Regions from separate parts of the Homo sapiens genome. Here regions 2, 3, 4, 5, 6 and 7 are each linked to region 1. The links are contacts of gene promoters, found by promoter capture Hi-C in human tissues and cell types (Jung and others, 2019). All regions are on one chromosome and are shown on one strand. The core of a region is centred on a gene start or on the middle of the fragment in contact, and the rest is flanking DNA. Distances in the headings are between cores, read along the strand shown.

What was found. Contacts are between HindIII fragments. The study calls those that stand out against the background at their distance.
Region 2: the fragment with the promoter of ULK3 here is called in contact with the fragment with the promoter of COMMD4 in region 1 in 3 of the 25 tissues and cell types used here (dorsolateral prefrontal cortex, lymphoblastoid cells and pancreas).
Region 3: the fragment with the promoter of MPI here is called in contact with the fragment with the promoter of COMMD4 in region 1 in 1 of the 25 tissues and cell types used here (heart right ventricle).
Region 4: a fragment that was not itself captured here is called in contact with the fragment with the promoter of COMMD4 in region 1 in 2 of the 25 tissues and cell types used here (lymphoblastoid cells and spleen).
Region 5: a fragment that was not itself captured here is called in contact with the fragment with the promoter of COMMD4 in region 1 in 3 of the 25 tissues and cell types used here (adrenal gland, lymphoblastoid cells and stomach).
Region 6: a contact is called between the fragment with the promoter of SNX33 here and the fragment with the promoter of COMMD4 in region 1, in 2 of the 25 tissues and cell types used here (lymphoblastoid cells and spleen).
Region 7: a fragment that was not itself captured here is called in contact with the fragment with the promoter of COMMD4 in region 1 in 1 of the 25 tissues and cell types used here (lymphoblastoid cells).

The regions. Positions count from the first base shown.
Region 1 is chr15:75,334,664-75,337,661 of GRCh38, forward strand. COMMD4 (COMM domain containing 4) reads left to right here and starts at 1,400. Exons shown (of 8, transcript NM_017828.5): 1 at 1,400-1,429. The coding sequence starts at 1,427. RefSeq lists enhancers at 1,234-1,283, 1,624-1,793. The HindIII fragment of the contact is 27,503 bases long and covers 1-2,998 here.
Region 2 is chr15:74,841,763-74,844,760 of GRCh38, forward strand. ULK3 (unc-51 like kinase 3) reads right to left here and starts at 1,394. Exons shown (of 16, transcript NM_001099436.4): 1 at 1,242-1,394; 2 at 518-658; 3 at 313-433. The coding sequence starts at 1,343. It overlaps SCAMP2 (secretory carrier membrane protein 2), which reads right to left. Exons shown (of 9, transcript NM_005697.5): 9 at 1,968-2,998. RefSeq lists enhancers at 388-913, 982-1,893 and a silencer at 1,156-1,875. The HindIII fragment of the contact is 11,414 bases long and covers 1-2,998 here.
Region 3 is chr15:74,888,294-74,891,291 of GRCh38, forward strand. It overlaps MPI (mannose phosphate isomerase), which reads left to right and starts at 1,749. Exons shown (of 8, transcript NM_002435.3): 1 at 1,749-1,796; 2 at 2,234-2,361. The coding sequence starts at 1,781. RefSeq lists enhancers at 1,366-1,415, 1,576-1,875, 1,665-2,198, 1,996-2,075. The HindIII fragment of the contact is 15,781 bases long and covers 1-2,998 here.
Region 4 is chr15:75,757,998-75,760,995 of GRCh38, forward strand. LOC101929408 (a long non-coding RNA gene) reads left to right here and starts at 545. Exons shown (of 4, transcript XR_932487.3): 1 at 545-630. The HindIII fragment of the contact is 5,413 bases long and covers 1-2,998 here.
Region 5 is chr15:74,967,613-74,970,610 of GRCh38, forward strand. No RefSeq gene overlaps it. Among named protein-coding and RNA genes, the nearest start is that of RPP25, 12 kb to the left of the region's middle. The HindIII fragment of the contact is 5,742 bases long and covers 1-2,998 here.
Region 6 is chr15:75,646,536-75,649,533 of GRCh38, forward strand. SNX33 (sorting nexin 33) reads left to right here and starts at 1,377. Exons shown (of 2, transcript NM_153271.2): 1 at 1,377-2,998. The coding sequence starts at 2,568. RefSeq lists a silencer at 996-1,535 and an enhancer at 1,161-1,852. The HindIII fragment of the contact is 33,754 bases long and covers 1-2,998 here.
Region 7 is chr15:75,618,266-75,621,263 of GRCh38, forward strand. SNUPN (snurportin 1) reads right to left here. Exons shown (of 9, transcript NM_005701.4): 2 at 2,629-2,791. The coding sequence starts at 2,786. Among named protein-coding and RNA genes, the nearest start is that of SNUPN, 6.0 kb to the right of the region's middle. The HindIII fragment of the contact is 5,240 bases long and covers 1-2,998 here.

The sequences.
Region 1 (2,998 bases), core at 150-2,649:
TCTATTTTATAGTGCAGTTTAATTGTCATGGGCTCTGTCTTTTAAAAACCTGAAAGCCTGCAACAATAAAACCAGCTGCACCTGTTGCATGGGATAGGCATGGAATTGAGGAGAGAGCTCAAACTACAGTCAGCCCTCTGTATCCTGAGGTTCTGGATCCTTGGATTTAACCAACTGTGCATCGAAAATATTTGGAAAAAGTAAAACAATAAAAAAACACAGGTCGGGTGCAGTGGCGGGCGCCTGTAGTCCCAGCTACTCGGGAGGCTGAGGCAGGAGAATGGCGTGAACCCGGGTGGCAGAGCTGGCAGCGAGTGGAGATCGCGCCACTGCACTCCAGCCTGGGCAACAGAGCAAGACTCCGTCTCAAAAAAAAAAATTAAAAAACTTTATAACAGCTATTTACAAAGCATTTACGTTGTATTAGGTATTATAGTAATCTAGAGATGATTTAAAGTATACGGAAGGATGTGCACAGGTTATTTGCAAATACTATGCCATATTATATCAGGGACTTGAGTATCTGTGAATTTTGGTATCTCTGGGGTCCTGGAACCAACATCCTGAGGTTACCAAAGGACGACTGTATTCAATTTTGTCTCTGGTTATTAGTCTATTCTCAAATGTATTTTTCTTGTTGTTTTGTCTTTTTGTTTTTGCCTCTTCAAGTCAATGTCGGAAACTTAGTTGTTCTAGACTACCCATTAGCTCAGAGCTACCAGTAATCAGACTACCACTGCAACCTAAGCAACCGATTTTTCTTCCCCATCAGACTGGCAAAAATTAAGATAAGCATCTATTGATGTTGAAGCTGTAGGGAGTTTTCCTGAGCAAGTAATTATGACAGCCCTTTTTGCTAGGCACCTAGATGATTCATCAAAATGAAATAAAATACCCATGCACTTGAAGAAGTTATCTGGTTTATTTCCTTACCTGGGTGCTGGTTATGTGAGGTGTACAGTTGATGAAAACTTATTAAGCTTTATAATAGGTACAATTTTCTGTATGTGTAGTAGACGTCAATAGTTTTTAAAATGTCTTTTGCCACAGCCCGCAGCTGTGAATAATGCTATTCGCTTAACAGTGGAAAACGTGTCAATGACCTGAAACACCCTGGCTCCCGGGATCCTACCCCCTTAAGTTAAACAAATGAAATAACTTCCACTGTCTTTCCTAATGTCTTAATTCGGTCCTCAGTTAAACTGGCGGTTGGCGCCAGTTTTTTCCAGGGAAGGATTCTGGGAGACGGAGGAGGAGACGCCAGCATTTCGCCCCCTGCACCTCCAGCGGGCTGCGGTCCGCTCCCGGCCTCACTCGAGCAGGCCCCGCCCTCCCAGAGGCAGTTAGTCCAAGTCACGTGATCGTCGACTCAGCTGACCCTGCGGGACCGGAAAAAGAAATTCCCGGGCCCTGGCTTCTTGGCGCGATGGTGAGGCACTAGGGGCGAAGCGAGGCTTGGGCTGCTGGAGCGGGAATGAGGGGGCGCCAAGTGGCTCCGGAAACTGGGGGAGGTTGTACTGGCCTCTCCGCAAACACAGTGTGTGCGGGCGTGAGGGCTGTGAGTCTGGTAGGGAAAAGTCCACCACTCTCCCGCTCCCGAGACGGGGGCGGGGGTACGGGGCGGGTAAGACAGAGCAGGCCGGCCGGCTTAGAGTCCCGGTGCTTCCCTGGCGGAAGGAAGGGCCCCTGCCTCCCGGGGCAGGAACTAGGGCTTGTCTGGAGCTGGGAGTCCTTTCAGGTCTTCCCCATCCCCAAGAGGACCTCCCAAGGATACCCCCTTCCCCAGCCCTGCCGTGGGGCTTGTACAAGAAGGTGCTTAGAATCAGGCTCACTCTTCCACACTGTTAGGAAGCCCCTCCGCTCTTTCCAGAGCCAGAAAGTAGTAGTTTTGGGGTTGAGACTTATCCATCCATCCATCCAATCCATCCATCCGTACGTTCTAAGCGCCTGGTCTATACCATGAAGTGTGCTAGGCACTGGGAGGACTTGAGCTGCCAAGGGAAGGGGAAATCGGAGGCTTGAATTGGAGTCATAGCTAAGGCTCCAGGGGCAGAGACCTAACTGCGCCTTGTGTGTAGTGCTAAGGGGGCTTCCTAAGGATGCCATCAAACTTAAAGGCGGATGGATGGCAGGAGCTGGCTGGCTGAAGTACAGTTTGTGTACCAGGGGTAGGGAGGCAAGGGTGGGAGACGTGTGTCTTCAGACAGGGAACAGCATGTGCAGAGACTTCAGGTTAGAGAGAGTATGGCTCCCCAGGAATGGATGCATTTCCCATAGCTGGGAGAGTATCATCTGCAGGTTAGGGAAAGATGAGGCTGGACAAGTAGAGAACAAATCTTCCTGGCTCTTGGATCACCACAATCAAGATAATGAACGTATCCACTGGCCTCCATAATTTCCTTGTGTGAGGGGCTATTTTAAGAAGTATAATCAAGAAAGGCTGTTCTGGCTGGGTGCGGTGGCTCATGCCTGTAATCCTAGCACTTTGGGAGAGTGAAGAGGGTGGATCACCTGAGGTCAGGAGTTCGAGACCAGCATGGCCATGGCACTCCAGCCTGGGCAACAGAGGGAGACTCTGTCTTATTTTTTTATTTTTTAAAAAAAGAAGGGCTGGTCTGATGTGTCACTTAAAGGATAGCAAGCCACTGGCCAGGCGCCGTGGCTCACGCCTGTAATCCCAGCACTTTGGGAGGCTGAGGGGGACGGATCACTTGAGGTCAGGAGTTCAAGACCAGCCTGGCTAACATAGTGAAACTCTGTCTCTACTAAAAATACAAAATTAGCCGAGTGTGGTGGCACATGCCTGTAATCCCAGCTACTTGGGAGGCTGAGGCAGGAGAATCACTTGAACCTGGGAAGCGGAGGTTGCAGTGAGCCGAGGTCGCGCCATTGCACTCCAGCCTGGGGAACAAGAGTGAAACTGTCTCAAAAAAAAAAAAAAAAGGATAGCAAGCCACACAGAGAGTGCAGCAGGCATGGAGGCGGGAGCAAGGCTGGT
Region 2 (2,998 bases), core at 144-2,643, 490 kb before region 1:
CTTGAGATCCTGCTCTTTTCCTTGGCACAGCACTTGAGTCCTACCTACAGGACTCTGGAATGTTCTACAAGGTCCTTATATTATGTTCTATGTATGGAAGCCTGAACACCCCACAGAGGGGTTACCCCCTCATCTCTCCCACAGCGTCCTTGAGCAAGGGTTGAGTGTATGAGATAAACAGGACCATAAAATTTCAGGCTGTGCAGGAGGCAGCTGCAATGCGTGCCAAGGCTCTAAGCCTGGGGGAGGGGTGGGATGGTGGGGGGCAGAGAACAAGGGACAGAGTGTCAGGCTGGTGTCACAGGCCTTTACCTAATTGCTGCATGAAGACACGCGCCACCTTCTCAGGCAGAATCCTGCGGGTATGGATGAAGCGAGACAGGTCGCCCCCTGCGCAAAACTCCATGATGAGGTAGATATTGTCACTGTCCCACTGTGTTTAGAGGCAGAGAGGCGGCCTGAAGAGAGTGTCCCTTCTCCAGCTCCCTTTGGCAGCGGCCCCGCCCCAGGCTCACACCTGAAAGTCTTTCAGCTGCACAATGTGGGGATGTCGAATGCCCTTGAGGATCTCAATCTCCGTGAGGAGGTTCTCCACCGATGCCTTGTTCAGACTTTTCTTGGCTACACACTTTATGGCTACCACTTCACGAGTGTCCTTCTGCGAGACAGGAGATTTGGGGACTCTGCCTTGAGGGGGCCAGGACCCTTGTCTGACTGGAAAGGCTCTATCTGGTTCCCTCTGTTCCCCCACCCCGCCCCTCCCCGGGTCTACCTACTGCACACCAGCACCGGGCTTCCCAGCTTTCCCTTGTGAGGCCAGTGAGGAATGCTGATTCTGGAATCCTGGCTTCCCGACACAGCCTCAGCCTGGTCTTCTCCAACCCTCGGCTAGCTGATCCATTTCTTTGCATTCTGGAGTGCTCCCGGCAGAGGCATGTCACTCAGGGTTCTAGAACCGCCCACTCTGCCTCCCAACTGGCTCCAGTCCCAGACTCCTCCCAGCCCACCAGGTAACCTGTTTTGAGCCTGTTCTTCAGCCACTGACCCTGCAGGTGGGTGCAGGTGCGCTCTTTAAGACCTAAGCGTGGCAGTCGGCTCCAACCTCCGCCGAGGGTCAGCTGGGGCGAGGCCGGCCTCCCGCCCCTAACTATTCCCACACTGTCGCTAACCTCTCAGAGTCTCCCCGGCCGGCACCAGCCGAGCTAGCTCGGGCGGGCACGGGGCCATCGGCCGGCACCCACCTTGGCGTAGGCCTTGTACACCGTGGCGTACGTGCCGCTGCCCAGGCGCTCGGTGAGGATGAAGCCGTCCAGGCGCGGGGGACCCCAGCCGGGCCCCGCCATTCCGGCCGCCTGCGCCCGCGCGGGCGCTTCCTCGCTGCGGGCGGCGGTTCCGGCGGGTTGCGGGGCGGGCCGAGCACTGGGTGGCTCCACGCTGCCCCCAGCGCCGCCCGCCGGAAATGCAGCGCGCATCGGGGACGCGGATCCGCCCGGCTCCCGGCGCCCCTCCCCTGTCTCTGGGCCTCGCCGGGTCACGCGCCCCGCCAGTTCCTGCAGGGCCCACGTGGGGATACGGAGGCCCCGCGAGCCTAGAAGTTAACAACGGAGGACGGCCGGCGTGGTCTCCGGGGACTCCTAGCGGGCGCAGAGGCGTCTAGAGATCGCCCACGTGAGGGCGCGGGCGGCGGAGCGGGCGTGTGTGGGGGCGACGGCGTCCGGGAGGCTCCCAGGGCCCCTCCCCAGGACCCGCAGCTCTGAAAGGAGAGCTACTGGCACGAGAAGGCGCCTTTGGAAGAGGCCGCGTTGGCTTCCCAGGCCTCCCAGCTGCTTTTCACTTTTCTGAGGAAGGGCCTTGACCTATTTATTGCATCTTAACTGTCCCCGCTCTCCAATCTTAGCAGCGGCGCCCAGCCCCTAATCCTGTGGGCTGCCCCGTCCTCCCAAGTCCACCAGACATGTGGACCCGTGTTGTCTGAAAATGTTTTTATTTTTACTTAAGCACAAAAATTGAGACGTAACATATACATTTGTACATAGAGGGGAAAAAATACCAGAAAGGAGTTCATAAAACCCCAGCCGCTGCCAGTATCATTCAGTGGCTGGGGCCTGCGGCTGTCTCGGGCCCAGAGCCGGAGGCTAGTTTTGTGGGAAGGCACCCCAGTCCACACACCCACTCGGCAGCCTCGAGGGACAGGGTGCTGGTTTTAAGGGTGGACTCCTACGTGTCCCATCACAGTGACACACCCCCCAGGGTGTGAACCAGACTCCACTGGGTATTAGGGGGCCCTCCGAGAGATGGCTTATCAGTCCCTGCTGAGGGATGCGGTTCTGGACTGGCTGGCCCTGCCCTTCCTGAAAGTCTGGATGCTGCTGATGGGGAGCATGGGCGGGGCAGGTGGCATCTGAGGCAGAGACAAAGGCAGCCGTCCCTCGGTTCGGGGAGGGGGGGGGGTAGTCACAGCAAACAGGGCCAAACCAACCACACCAGGACAGGCAGACCCCACCCTCCTAGAAGACGCTGGACGCTAGGCAGGACAGCTTGGGGTCAGTGTCCTTGGTCCCTTCCAGTCCCCAAATCCCAACCAACGGCATTGTACATTCAGAAAGTCTGAAGAGAGTAAGGCTCAGCAAGGGGAGGGCTCCAGAGGGCTCAAAGTGCCATCCCCTGCAGGAGGGTGCAGGGGGATAAAGGGCTATTAATCCGTTTCTCAGGAACACGAGGCAGGGAAGAGCTTAAGGCAACCAGCCTTCTCTGGATCCGTTTATGAGGCAGAGAAGAGCTTGAGGCAACCAGCCTTCTCTGGAAGCCTGGAGACCACTGGAGTGACCTGGGGAACAGATCTGTCCACCAGAACCTGTGAGAGGCTTATTCCCAGCCCAGGCAGGAAGGACTGGGCTGTGTCTAAGAAGCCAGATTCAGGCCAGGCCTGCAGGGTGGGGGAGTCAAGGCCCAGGACCCTGGCAGAAAGCTCCAGCTGGGATGGGCCCAGGTCAGCCTG
Region 3 (2,998 bases), core at 499-2,998, 450 kb before region 1:
CCGTTCTCAATGAGCTGTTGGGTACACCTCCCAGACGGGGTGGTGGCCGGGCAGAGGGGCTCCTCACTTCCCAGTAGGGGCGGCCGGGCAGAGGCGCCCCTCACCTCCCGGACGGGGTGGCTGGCCGGGCGGGGGGCTGACCCCCCTACCTCCCTCCCGGACGGGGCAGCTGGCTGGGCAGAGGGGCTCCTCACTTCCCAGTAGGGGCGGCCGGGCAGAGGCGCCCCTCACCTCCCGGACGGGGCGGCTGGCCGGGCTGGGGGCTGACCCCCCCACCTCCCTCCCGGACGGGGCGGCTGGCCAGGCGGGGGGCTGTCATGAGTCTTGTATTATCCATTTTATTATTCCTTAGTGCATGGTAAAGCTTCCTTTAAAATGCAAGCTGATTTATTTGAGCCAGAGGACCCCAGGGGAGGTGAGATAGATACCCACACCTGGGCAGAGGATTACAGGGAAAACGGCACCCGCTCTTTCCCCTGGGCACATATGGTAGAGGCTGTGGGAATGAGGGTATTGCAGGGGTGATGAGGGTAGAGTCAGGACTGTAACTCCTCATTCCAGGTTCCCCGGAGCTTTGACTGTTGTGCTCCTAGCCTCAAGCAATCCTTCTGCCTCTGCCTCCTAAGGTGCTAGGATTACAGGCCTGAGCCACTGACTGTCCTCCTCCTAGGAGGCTGTTGACTGAGAAGGTCTGGATGTCAAAGCCTTTCACCACAGGATATAGCCAAGATTACTGCAGAGCCAAGGCCCAAGGCCATCCTTCCCTATGCACAGCTCTTCGTAATTCCCCTGACTTCTGTGTGTGCAACTTGTAAGCAGCTCAGCCTGGAGTAGAAGTTGGGGTTCTGACTTTCTACAGCACCTGGGACGGGAAGGATCAGAGGAGCACAGGGAGCTGACTGCCTTATAGGTGTCTCACGTCATCCCATCTGACCCTCCAACAAGCATGTCAGGCTGGCATTATTCACCCCATTCTACAAAGCTCAGAGCAGTGAAGGGCCTTGCATGTGACATTTACCATCATCATCACTAGTATGTCCCTACTCACATCACAGCAATTCTTTGCTCAAATCTGTAATTGCTGAGACTCGAAGTAAAACCCAAAGTCTTCACAATAGCAATAGCCTGCAAAGCTCTGCCCCCCTCCTCTCTTCTCTGACCTCCTCACTGCCCCTGTCTTACTCACTCTGCTCCAGCCACAGTGGCCTCCTTGCTAGCAGTTCCCTCCCCAACACGCCCGGCACAGTCCCACATTCCCGCCTTGCTCTGGCTTCCGCTGTGGCTGTTTCCTCCCCGCAGAACACTCCTGCCTTCCTCACCGCCAAGTCTGGACTCAAACCTCACCTCCTCAAGAGGCTTGCCCAGACAGCCTTTTATATTCTGCAAACTGCCTCCCACTGCCACCTGCCCCCTTACTTTTTGTGGCCTTGACCTTTCAACATACTACATGATTTGCTTACAATACTTGTCTGTCTTGCCTTCACCAGAATGTAAGCGCTCTACAAAGGCAGAGGGAAGGCTATCTTGCTCTCTGATGTATCCTCCAGCCCTTAGAACAGTCCGTGGTACTTAGCAGGTTTTCAGTACATCTGTGCCCGGCGATGGAAAGAATGAATGAATAGTGAGACCGAAGATCGCGGCCGTAAGCCTCTGGGCACGGGTGCCCCGGGGCCTGGCGGAACGCTCAGGGAACTACATTTCCCGTGAAGCTCTGGGCGCAGAGGGCCGCGGGGGCTGCCGGGAAAGGCATACGTGCTTAATCCTGGTGCAGGGGGCGAGCATGGCCGCTCCGCGAGGTGAGCCATTGGCTGGGGTGTCGGCGAGTGTGTTCGTGGAGCGCGTCCTGGGGACGACTCCCGGCATTATCGGCCAGGTTGAGTCCGCTCCTGGCATTCCGCGGAAAGATGGGTGGGTGCCGGGCAGAGGTGTGGCCACCTGCGATGGGGATTGACCTCCGAGGGGAGGGGGCCCTTCTAGACGTCGTGCCGTGGGATAGGTACCTTCTGCTCCCTCCCCGCCACCCTGCCTCAGATCAGCACAAGGTCCTTACTGCTGCCCATCTGACAGTTGGGAACATCGAGGCCTGCAGCGGAGGGGGGTCTCATCCAACAGCCTACAAAACCCTTATTTGACTCTGTCCCCAGTGAGCACCCCCAGCTCTTGCCTGGTTTCCCGGGACACTAGGGTGGGGCCTGAGGAGTGGAGTGGCAGCTGACCCTGTCTGTGCCCCTAGTATTCCCACTTTCCTGTGCGGTGCAGCAGTATGCCTGGGGGAAGATGGGTTCCAACAGCGAAGTGGCGCGGCTGTTGGCCAGCAGTGATCCACTGGCCCAGATCGCAGAGGACAAGCCTTATGCAGAGGTGAGCCCCGGGCTGTATTTCAGCCCACTTTACCCGCAGGTCAGGAGAAAGGGCCTGAGGCAAGTCATAAGAATCAGCTGGGAAGGGTGAGGCAGCAAGGAGGGAGGAGACCCACTTGGCTCTTCAGGCTAATGGACTAGATAGTGTTATCAAAAAGAAGAGAGGTTTTGTCATAATAGGCTGGGATTTCCAGCACTCTCCTTCCCCCAACCACTCTTAGCACTTAGTGAATTTTAATTCAGCCCTCTTTGACAATTAAGTTTTTTTACTTTGACTATTTTTTTGCATTTTTATTAACCTAAAATATTTCTCCTGCCTATTTAGTGGAGAAAAAGCCAAAGCATAGGAAGGCTTTCGCCTCTGCTTCTGAAACTGGAAGATGTATGTTAACCCCTGAAAGAATCATTTAAGAGTCATAGTTTTTCTGCTACCTTGACAGTGCAGATGTCATTCTCCTCTTTGGACAGACAAAGAAGATACATCTAAAGAAGGGAAATAACTAGTCCAAGTCTTCATAGATGGCTAGAGGCCGAGTCTGGACAAGGGCCTGGGTCTACTGCCTCCCTGTATGTCCATGATGGCATGAACATTTGTATCCAGACCTGGGAGGCCTTTCCCAGGACTCAGTTGCCCTGTG
Region 4 (2,998 bases), core at 329-2,828, 420 kb after region 1:
TTTTCCTGAGCATGTTAATTATGACAGCCCTTTTTGCTAGGCACCTACACAATTCATCAAAATGAAATAAAACACCCATGCACTTGAAGAAGTTATCTGGTTATTTCCTTATCTGGGTGCTGGTTATGTGAGGTCTACAGTTAATGAACACTTATTAAGCTTTATATTTCTAATAGGTACAATTTTCTGCATGTGTAGTAGATTTCAATAGTTTTTAAAATGTCTTTTGCCGCAGCCCGCAGCTGTGTATAATGCTATTCGCTTAACAGTGGAAAACATGGCAATGACCTGAATCCCCCTGGCTCCCGGGATCCTACCCCCTTAAGTTAAACAAATGAAATAACTTCCACTGTCTTTCCTAATGTCTTAATTCGGTCCTCAGTTAAACTGGCGGTGGGCGCTGCTTTTTTTCCAGGGAAGGATTCTGGAAGACATAGGAGGAGACGCCAGCATTTCGCCCTCCAGCACCTCCTGCGGGCTGTGGTCCGCTTCCGGCCTCACTCGAGCAGACCCCGCCCTCCCAGAGGCCGTTTGTCCAAGTCACGTGATCGTCGAATCTGTTGACCTGGCGCCACCGGAAAAAGAAATTCCCGGGCCCTGGCTTCTTGGCCTGATGGTGAGGCACCAGAGGTGAAGCGAGGCATGGGCTGCTGGAGCGGGAATGAGGGGGCGACAGTGGCTCCGGAAACGGGGGGAGGGTGTCTTCACTGGCCTCTCCGCAAACACAGTGTGTGCGGGTGTGAGGGCTGCAGGTCTGGTAGAGAAGAGTCCACCGCCATCCCGCTCCTGAGACGGGGGCAGGAGTGGGGGGCAGGAGTGGGGGGGCGGGTAAGACAGAGCAGGCCGGCCGGCTTGTGGAGGGCGAGGCAGGCAGATCCCTTGAGCTCAGGAGTTTGAGACCAGACTGGGCAACATGGCAAAACCCCATCTCTACTAAAAATACAAAAAATTAGCTGGGCATGGTGGCACATGCCTGTAGTCCCAGGTAGTTAGGAGGCTAGGGTGGGAGCACTGCTTGAGCCCAGGAAGTAGAGGCTGCAGTGAGCCGAGATCATGATGTCACTGCACTCCAGCCTGGGCAACAGAGTGGGACCCTGTCTCAAAAAATAAAAATAAAGTGGAAGCATCAGTATGCATGATTGAAGTCATGCTTTCCATCTATTTTTTTCCACCTTCCCTTTTTTCTGTCTAAAACATTGTATCTTAAGCTTTTGCCTATGTTATCAAGTACTCATAAGCATTATTTGAATGGTTGTATCATAATCCATTATCTGGACTCATTGTCATTTATCCATCTGCAGTTGCTGGAGATACTGCCCTTTCTGCCACACTCAGTCACCCTTCTGACCTTGCACTGTGTCCAGTTATCTACTAATACCCATACTGGTCATTTAGGACTTAAGAATAGTTATCATAGTTTTTAACATTCCAAAAAGAATGTGTCTTCCTAAAAATAGAATGGCTTGGTGGTTATACTTTTAAAGCAAAATAGACAAAGCCATGTTGAAATTAATGTTTTATTTTCTTCTTGTATCTATTTTCACTTCTCTTGTCATTTTGATGGATAAAGTTTCATTTGGAAGGATTTTTATTTCAAAACAGAAATAGCATATGACATGAGAAGGGGAACTCTGAAAGGTTCAACTTCCTAGTTTACTAAGTTTGTCACAAAAGCTACTGATAGTCAATCATGATTGGCCTGTATTGAAAGTGAGTTAACATTATGTACAACTTAAGCACTATACTTTCTATCCGATACAGAAAAATAGGTGGTGTGTTTGGAAAAGTATTGGGCTAGGAGTCAGGAAGCTTGATTGTTAGTCTCAACCCTGCTTCTTGAGCTGAGCACCCCTAGGCAATAATTCAGCAGCTATTTCTTAAATACCTAAATGAATTTCAGGCTTTGTGGTTGGGCTGGGAATATAGACATAGATACTGCATTCATGATTCTCCAAGCCTCCCTTCTTCACCCCGGCTCACAGTGAGCTTTCTTATGCATTGTGTAAATTTGTCTCCTAACAGGCCCCAACTCTGTCTCCAACCTCCTTCCCAGGGCAGTTGTGAGGATCAGATGAGGGAGAATATGTGTGAAAGCAAATTGTAAATTATTTTAAAATGCAATAAAAATATGATCCATGGAAAATTATTTAAAGATCCTTATTAAAATTATTAAAGATCCTTAGAATTTTAAATAAACAGTACATTAGGCCGGGCATTGTGGCTTAGGAGAGCGCTGGGTCAAATCAGTCCCCTCCAGCTACGCATTGCCTGGAGCTGCTCTCCAAGGACCCCTCAGCCACAGAAGGCGCTGGTCCTCCTACAGTGCTGCCCCACCCCCACCACCACAGCCTCCTGGGGGTGCAGTCAGGGGTGCCCTCCTTCAGGCTCTGCCCCTGCACCCACTCCTACACAACTACTCTCCCTGCCGGCAGCCCCAGAGACCAGATTGGTTTGGGCCTCTGCCTCCGCAGGCCCGAACCACCATCTCTTCTGCTCCCCAGAAAGCCAGCTCCCAGCACACAGGCAGCGTTCCCTCTTCATTCCTCAACACAGAGGGCCCCTCACAACCCTCTCAGCAGATGGTAGAGCTCCCCACGCATCCTCTTAAAGAGGCTTCACCGTTGATGGCCACAAGCCCCACCATGACCTCCTCCCAGGGAGTGAATTTTCTTACATGTCTCCCACCAGAGCAGGGACAAAATAAAACATAAAAGCAGCAGCTGTTAAATTATCAGCAACATTTCCTACTAGGATCAACTCACGGAGTGGGCAGTGTATTCCATTAGGTGGATCAGTGCAGGGGTTAGCAAGCGTTTTCTGTAAAGGGCCGGATGGGAACTCTTTAAGGCTCTGCAGGCCACTGGGTCTCTGTCACCACCTACTCAAACCCTCCCCTGTAGCAAGAAAGCAGCCCTAGCAACATGTCAACAGATAAGCGTGGCCACATTCCCAGAAACCTTTCTTTATGGACATGGAAGTTTGCATCTCACGTAATTCT
Region 5 (2,998 bases), core at 264-2,763, 370 kb before region 1:
AGAACACTCAAGATGGCTTCATTCATAAGTCTAGTGCCTCTGCTGGGGTGGCTGGAAGGCTGGGGGTGTTGGCTGGGCCTCTCTTTTCATGGACTCTAGCCTAAGCTTCTTTCTTGAGTGGCTTGATCCCAAAACAGTGAAAATGGGAGCTGTCAGGCTTTGTAAGGCCTAGACCTAGATGTCACACATTATCATGTCCTCTACATTCCATTGGTCAAACCAAGATACATGTCTAGACCAGATTCAAGGGATAAGGAAATAAACTGTACCTCTTGGTGAAAGGCCTGACATGTATATACAGGAATGGGAGGAACTGTTGACAGCCATCTCTGCAGACAATCTACCACATGAACTAACTCATGTGTTTTTGTTTTTTGTTTTTGAGATGGAGTCTCGCCCTGTCGCCTAGGTTGGAGTGCAATGGCACGATCTCGGCTCACTGCAACCTCCGCCTCCCAGGTTCAAGCGATTCTTCTTCCTCAGCCTCCCAAGGAGCTGAGATTGCAGGTGCCCGCCACCACGCCTGGCTAATTTTTTTTTTTTTTTTTTTTTTTTTTTTTTTTGAGACGGAGTCTCGCTCTGTCGCCCAGGCTGGAGTGCAGTGGTGGAGTCTTGGCTCACTGCAAGCTCCGCCTCCTGGGTTCACGCCATTCTCCTGCCTCAGCCTCCAGAGTAGCTGGAACTACAGGTGCCTGCCACCACGCCTGGCTAATTTTTTTTTGTATTTTTAGTAGAGATGGGGTTTCATCATGTTGGCCAGGCTGGTCTCAAACGCCTGACCTTGTGATCTGCTGGCCTCAGCCTCCCAAAGTGCTGGGATTACAGGCGTGAGACACTGCGCCTGGCCTAGCTCATGCTTTTAAATAACGTATCTGTAGCTCAGTTTAGCCCAAGGTTGCAACTTCCTTTTTTTTTTTTTTTGAGACAGAGTATCTCTCTGTCGCCAGCCTGGAGTGCAGTGACCTGATCTCAGCTCACTGCAACTTCCATCTCCTGGGTTCAAGCAATTCCCTGCCTCAGCCTCCCAAGTAGCTAGGATTACAGGCGCCCACCACCATGCCTGGCTAATTTTTGTATATATATATTTTTTAGTAGAGACGGGGTTTCACCATCTTGGCCAGGCTAGTCTTGAACTCCTGACCTTGTGATCCACCTGCCTCAGCCTCCCAAAGTGCTGGGATTACAGGCGTGAGCCACCACACCCAGCCTCCTTTTATTTTTTTAATTTAAATTTTATTTTTTTGAGACAGAATCTTGCTGTGACGCCCAGGCTGGAGTGTAGTGGAGCAATCAGGGCTCACTGCAAACTCTGCCTCCTGAGTTCAAGCAATTCTCCTGTCTCAGCCTCCCGAGTAACTGGGATTGCAAGTGCCCACCACCACACCAGCTAATTTTTTGTATTTTTTGTATTTTTTTTTTTTTTAGTAGAGTAGGGGTTTTACCATGTTGGCCAGGCTGGTCTCGAACTCCTGACCTCAGGAGATTTGCCCGCCTCGGCCTCCCAAAGTGCTGGGATTACAGGTGTGAGCCACCGTGCCCGGCCATGCCCAACTAATTTTTGTGTTTTGTTTGTAGAGACGGGGTTTTGCCATGTTGACCAGTCTGGTCACAAACTCCTGGCCTCAAGTGATCCACCCGCCTCAGCCTCCCAAAGTGTTGGGATTACAGGCATGAGTAACCATGCCCAGCACAACTTTTTTTTTTTTTTTTTAAGACAAGGTCTCACTGCTGTCACCCAGGCAGGTGTGCAGTGGCACTATCACAGCTCATTGCAGACTCAACCTCTCAGGCTCAGGTGATCCTCCCACCTCATTTTTAGATTTTTTTTTTTTTTTTTTGTAGGGATGGGGTCTTACTATGTTGCCCAGGCTGGTCTGGAACTCCTGGGCTCAAGCAATACTCCTGCCTCGGTCTCTTAAAGTGTTGGGATTACAGGCGTGAGCCACTGCTCTGGGCCAAGGTTGCAACTTCTACTTGAAACTTTCAGGGAATTCACCTGGAAATGCAGGGGCTTTTTTTTTTTTTTTTTTTTTTTTTTTTTTTTTGAGACAGAGTCTCACTTTGCTGCCCAGGCTGGAGTGCGGTGGTGCGATCTTGGCTCACTGAAACCTCTGCCTCCCAGGTTCAAGCGATTCTCCTGCCTCAGCCTCCCAAGTAGCTGGGACTATAGGTGTGCACCACCATGCCTGGCTAATTTTGTATTTTTAGTAGAGACGAGGTTTCACCATGTTGGCCAGGCTGGTCTCGACCTCTTGACCTCAGGTGATCCTACTTTGGGATTGTTTCCACCCATCAGCCTGAATCCCAAAGCTGCCTAGTTCCTAACCTGAAGGGAAGAAGGCCAGGTGATTGGCTGGGTGCAGTGACTCACACTTGTAATCCCAGCACTTTGGGAGGCCAAGGCAGGCGGATCACCTGAGGTCAGGAGTTCGAGACCAGCCTGGCCAACATGGCGAAACCCCCCATCTCTACTAATAATAATAAAAAAAATTAGCCAGAAAAGAAGACCAGGTGATTAATGAGATCTCTTTATTTTATTTTTAGAGGGAGTCTCACTTTGTCACCCAGGCTGGAGTGCAGTGGTGCAATCTCGGCTCACTGCAACCTCTGCCTCCTGGGTTCAACTGATTCTTCTGCCACAGCCTCCCTAGTAGCTGGGATTACAGGCACATGCCACCACAGCCTTTTAGTAGAGACAGGGTTTCCCCATGTTGGCCAGGCTGGTCTCAAACTTCTGACCTCAAGTGATCTGCCCTCCTCGGCCTCCCAAAGTGCTGGGAATACAGGCGTGAGCACCGCGCCTGGCCTATTTTATTTTATTTTATTTTTTTGAGACAGAGTCTTGCTCAGTTGCCCAGGCTGGAGTACAGTGGCATGATCTCAGCTCACTGCAACCTCCCTGGTTCAAGCAATTCCCCTGCCTCAGCTTCCCAAGTAGCTGGGATTACGGGCACATGCCGCCACGCGTGGCTACCTTTTTTGTATTTTTAGTAGAGAC
Region 6 (2,998 bases), core at 127-2,626, 310 kb after region 1:
ACTTCCTCCTTCAGGAAGCTTTCCTTGATCCTTGCTCTACCCAGGCTGGGGTAGGTACCCTCATGTGCACTTTTCATGGCACTAACTAGTCACACTGGGCAGGGAGCATTTGTCTACTTGTCACAACATATCTGAGCTTTTGGAAAATAAGGATAATGTCTTATTTGTCTTTGTAGCTCAGGGGCCTGGTGCAGAGTAGGTACTCAGTTAATGTTTCTTGAGTGCATGACTTGGCTGAATGAATGACTGAGACAGAATGGATTGATTAAAGACAAGAGAGGGTGGACTGTAAGCCCCCCAGGATAGAAACCCCGACTGCCTTGTGGTGTACTACTCCCCAGTGCCCAGCACAGTGCCTAGCAGAATCAATGCCCAAAGTGTTCCCGATATGCTGACCGAGGGTCAGATCCCACTTGCCTCTTCTCGAAGATTCTCTACCTGACCACTTCTCTCCTTGCTGCCGCTGGCTAGCACAGAACATCCAGTCCCCGCTGCTGTACTAAGCAACACGGAACCGGGTGGCACCTAGACTTGTTCCCTGTCGCTGCAGATGTAGAGTAGTGTCTTTCCCTCCTTCCAAGCTAGTCGCCCAGGGCAGGGTCGCCCTGTCTGGCTAGGGTGCTGCACCCGCAGCTCTCGGTATCTTAGGTCAGACGCCTGGAACGCGCAGGCCGTTTCTGTTCCTCCGGAAAACAATCTCTGAGCTGCGCCACGACCCGTCCCTGCGGAGCAGGAGTGGGGAATGGGAAGGTGGGAAGGCGAGTCCGCGACTCTGCTCCCCAACCCCAGCTGGCGCGGCGGCTTTCCACGCACCCCCCTCCCCCCACCCCGATCTCCCGATCCTGGCTCTGGCGCGGTGCTCCTTGCAGCCCCACGCTTTGCAAACTTTCGGAGTTTTACTCCATTTGCGTCACGGAAAAGGCAGGAGGATGACGGAGTCCAGGAAGCGAGGCAGCGGCAGCTGGCAAGCTCCCCCGCCGGGCGCTCCAACCACGGGGGCGTGAGGTGTCTCCCGGCGAGGGCGGACAGGCGGAGGGAGAGGAGGGGAGGTGGCGGTCCCAGGGACCAGCCCCGGAGGCTCTCGGGCCCCCTCGTTCCCGGGTCGTTTCCTCCCTCTCGCCTCCCGGACTGAGCGCCAGCGAGCGAGGGCGCTGGCCAGCTGGGAAGCCGCGCGGAGGAGTAGGCGGGGGCTCGGCTGCAGCGCCCCGGGCCCGCGGGAGGGCGGAGCTGGCCGTCCCTGCCCCGCCGGGACGCACGGAAGTGCAGCGGAGTTTGCCCGATTCTCCAGCCTGCTTCCCCCTCCCTCCTCCCTCTCCCCACCCCTCACCTCCCCTTTGGCGATCCCCTCCTTCCTCAGGACGCCACCTCCCGGAATCGCCTTTTTGTTTTGGAGCTGCCTTCTCGCTGGCGGAGCGGAGGGTCTGCGAGCGCCGGGGAAGGCAGGCTGGGGGCGCAGCCCGCCCCCCACTGGCCGGGCCCCGCAGGGCGGAGAGGAGGACGGACGGACAGACGGCTGGCCGCGCCATCTGCTCGCCGGAGCTCACTCTCCAAACTCCAAACTGTTGAGTGTGTGCGTGCACGCGAGGGTGGTGATCGGGGGTCGTAAGTCCCGGGTGAGGAACCGGTTTCTGCTGGGGTTACCTTTGGACGGGGTTCCTGGGATTCAGAGCAGGGTCAGCGTCAGGCTCAGAAACTGCTGAGGAATTAGGCAAACAAAAGAGACCACTCAGCGAGTGGCTAGAAGTCGCCCGACAGCCTCGTCGCGCCCCCTCCTTCCTCCGGGGTTGGGGCTGGCCACTTCTGGGGCGGGGAGAGGGCGCCCGAGCCGGCGGGGGCTCCGGCTGCGCAGCCGGGGTCGAAGAGTTGGCGGCCTGTTGTGTAAGCCTCAGTCCTTGTTTTCCCGGCCTGGCTCGTTGTGAAGCCGGACACATCCACCCTTGGACTCGATTCAGGCGGCTGCTGCTTTTCTCCTTGCCCCTCTTGGATTTTCCGGATTTTTGAAAACCCAGTGGCCCAGGAGCAAGAGGAGGAAGGAGGAAGGGGCAGATCTGCAGAGGAATGTGAGAGCCTCCCAAAGCGAGAGCCGCCAAAAGAATCTGGGAGCCAGAGGGACAGCCGAGCCCTGCCCGGGTTTCTGGAATGGTGGTTTCAGAGTGAGTCTCTTCTATTTTAGAACGTTGTTCCAGTGGAAAGTGTCGAATTTTTCCCCTCGCAGGGCAGATTTCTCCAGGTCACTTGACTTTTCTTCTGGGAGTAGGAGTTAGGAGAGATTCCCCTCTAACCCCCCAGAGGCTGCTAAGGGAGGAGGAGACTGTGGACATGAGCCCTCCCTGCTCACAAGCATATGCCCGGAGACCTGATAGGGCAGTTTCTGGGCCATGGACATTGCTTTGAAGAGGGGGAGACTGGACAGCATCTGTGGGTGCTGAGACCCCACCTTAGGACCTGAGAGATTGAACTGTGTAAGCGCCATTCAGCTGCGAGTGCATTCTTGGACTGCCTTGTGAGCATCCCCGGTCTGGGCAGGACCCTCTCCTTCCCATCTTTCTATACCACCCAGCCCAGCCATGGCACTGAAAGGCCGAGCCCTCTATGACTTTCACAGTGAGAACAAGGAGGAAATCAGCATCCAGCAGGATGAGGACCTGGTCATCTTTAGCGAGACCTCACTGGATGGCTGGCTGCAGGGCCAGAACAGCCGTGGGGAGACAGGGCTCTTTCCTGCCTCTTATGTGGAGATCGTCCGTTCTGGCATCAGCACCAACCATGCTGACTACTCCAGCAGCCCTGCAGGCTCTCCCGGAGCCCAGGTGAGCTTGTACAACAGCCCCAGTGTGGCCAGCCCAGCTAGGAGTGGTGGGGGCAGTGGCTTCCTCTCAAACCAGGGTAGCTTTGAGGAGGATGATGATGATGACTGGGATGACTGGGACGACGGATGCACAGTGGTGGAGGAGCCACGGGCTGGTGGGCTGGGCACCAACGGGCACCCTCCCCTCAA
Region 7 (2,998 bases), core at 263-2,762, 280 kb after region 1:
TAAAGCAAGGACAGCTTCTGGAGATTTCTGCCTTATACACCTTTTTTGTTTTTAAAGAGAACTTTTTTTTTTACGGACCGTAGGTGTATGCCACTGTGCCCAGCTTATACAGCTTTCTCAGAAGCCAGGCCTTTCTCCAGTTCCTGTCTAACTTTCAAAAAAGGTCACTTAGTTTACAATTTAATATATTTTATTTATTTGTTTCCCTTTATCGTTATCTTGTTTTAAAACAACACATGCTAGAAAGTTTGGGAAACTGAAAAGAAAAAAAAAGAATCTTTTGGAACCTAATTGTTTCAAAGTGATTTGGAAATACCACATAACCTCCCACATTTGATTTCTTCAATGCTAAGGCAGGAATTCAACCACTGAGGCAGTGAAACCAACACAGCTGGTTTCTCTTAAACACATACATGTTCATGCTCATTATAAAAAGGCACACACCAGAGAGAACATATGAAAGCACAATGGTCTTTTATCTCGAGAATAAAAGAGCTGGTATATTTGTACATGTGTGAAAGAAAGTCTGTCTGTGGTTATTTCCTGAACATTGTTTGTAATCACAAGAGAAGAAAACTGCCCAGATGCCCATCAGGAGGGACTGGCTTGATGGCATTATGAAGTATCCATTCCACGGAATACCTAGCACCACGAAAAAGGAATGATGTGGTACTTTATGAACTGATATAGAATTTCTCCCCCAAAACACCACTAAATAAATGTGCAGAACAGTATATAGTATACTGCTACTTGTGTTAAAAAAAAAAAAAAAAAAAAAAAAAAAAGCCAGGTGCAGTGGCTCCTGCCTGTAATCCCAGCCCTCTGGGAGGGTGAATTGGCCAGATCACTTGAGCTCAGGAGTTCAAGACCAGCTTGGGCAACATGGTGAAATTGTGTTTCTACCAAAAATAAAAAAATTAGCTGGGTGTGGTGGCCTGCACCAGTGGTCCCAGCTACTTGAGGGGCTGAGGTTGCAGTGAGCCAAGATCATGCCACAGTACTCAGCCTGGGAGATAGAGTCAAAAAAAAAAAAAGCTTTTGTACACATACTACCACACACACTTGCTCATATATGTATAGAATATCTTCGGAAGGGCCAGGCGTAGTGGCTGACGTCTGAAATCCCAGCACTTTGGGAGGTCAAGGTGGGAGGATCAGTTGAGCCTAGGAGTTCAAGATCAGCCTGAGCAATATAGGGAGACCCTGTTCCTACAAAATATAAAAAAATTAGCCAGGTGCTATGGAGTGTGCCTGTAGTCCCACCTACTTCAGAGGCTGAGGTGGGAGGATCACCTGAGCCTGAGAGGTTGAGGCTGCAGTGAGCCGGGATCTGCACACTCCAGCCCGAACAACACAGTGACACCCTGTCTAAAATATATATATATTTGGAAGGATACACCAGAAACTAATAATATAGGAGAGGAACTGGATAGCTAGGGGACAGAAATGGGAAGACCTCACCATATACTCTTCTATTTATTTTATTTATTTATTTATTTATTTGAGAGAGTCTAGCTGTGTTGCCCAGGCTGGAGTGCAATGGCGCGATTTCGGCTCACTGCAACCTCCACCTCCCGGGTTCAAGTGATTCTCCTGTCTCAGCCTCCCGAGTAGCTGGGACTACAGGCACGCACCACCATGTCGGGCTAATTTTTGTATTTTTAGTAGAGACAAGTTTTCGCCATGTTGGTCAGGCCAGTCTCGAACTCCTGACCTCAGGTGATCCACCCACCTCGGCCACCCAAAGTGCTGGGATTACAGGCGTCAGCCACCATGCCCGGCCTCTTATGTATATTTTAAATTTTCAACCATACAAATGTATTACCTATTCAAAGATAACTACATTTTTAAAAATGGGGAGAGGAATGATCTGGGAATGTATTCTGCAAGCCACCCAGAGCCACAGGGAACCATCTCTGCCAAACACAACCAGTGATGCAACACTGGGCAAAATGCAGACTGTATGGAAACTATGCAGCTGTTAGTAGTTTCTTCTGATCCCTAATTCCTTAATTTATGACCCAGAAGAGGCCCATGCTGCATTGAGAATACAAGGATCGGCCCTGCCTTCAGAGTAGCTCAGCCTCAAACACTCTTATCCTGCCCTCTTTCCCTGTTTGCACATCTTGGCACTTAGAATTAAGTATATGGAAGACATTTCCTCAGATTCCCTTAGGAATTATTTGTCTTGAACTCCCAAGAGTGCCACAGAAACATTTGGGCTGAAGGCAGATGGGAAGACCACACCAATACCAGCATTCAGAGTGCAGAAGCCAAACACAAGCATCCCAGGAAATGTGGGGAGTGAAAGTCTGGGCGTGGCTTTCGCAAGTTCCTAAACCACAGAGCTCAGTACAGCTGCCAGGAAAAAAAGAAAAACTTAACCAAATAATTGAGCTTTTGGTTTCAAACTTCGGTGTCTCCCTAATTCCTCATCTTCTCCTAAGCTCTGGGTATAAAAGAAACCTACCTCTGCCAGGATTTACCCCTCCCAACCTGTGGGCAAGAAGATCAGCCTACAAAGAGTCTACTTTGAAGGGAGAGTCTGTAGAGACAAGCCTAGAGCCTTCGGAATGGTTCATAGCTCCTAGCCCAGAGAAAGAAGACAAGGAGTTAAAGCTTCCTTACGATTTCTGCAGTTCCAGTAACCTCCGGCGGCGCTCACTCTGCTCCAAGGAACTGTACTTGGACTTGTACTGGGATAGGCGGGGGTGTGGGGCAGCTGTGCTGTTCAGATCTTGAGACACAGAAAAGCTACTAGCCAGGGCCTGACTCAACTCTTCCATCTTCCCTACAAAGGAAAACGTAAGAAAATGGTTCATTCATTTCATATCATCTCCTGTATACAGACAGTTATGCAGTTATGATATGATGGCCACATTCCTGAAAAAAAATTAACTTAATGCAAAATCACAAGTGTTTCCATGAGACAAAAGGAAGTTAAAGGGTAAATGAGTCATATATTAGCAATAACATTATTTTCCTACAGATATTTCCT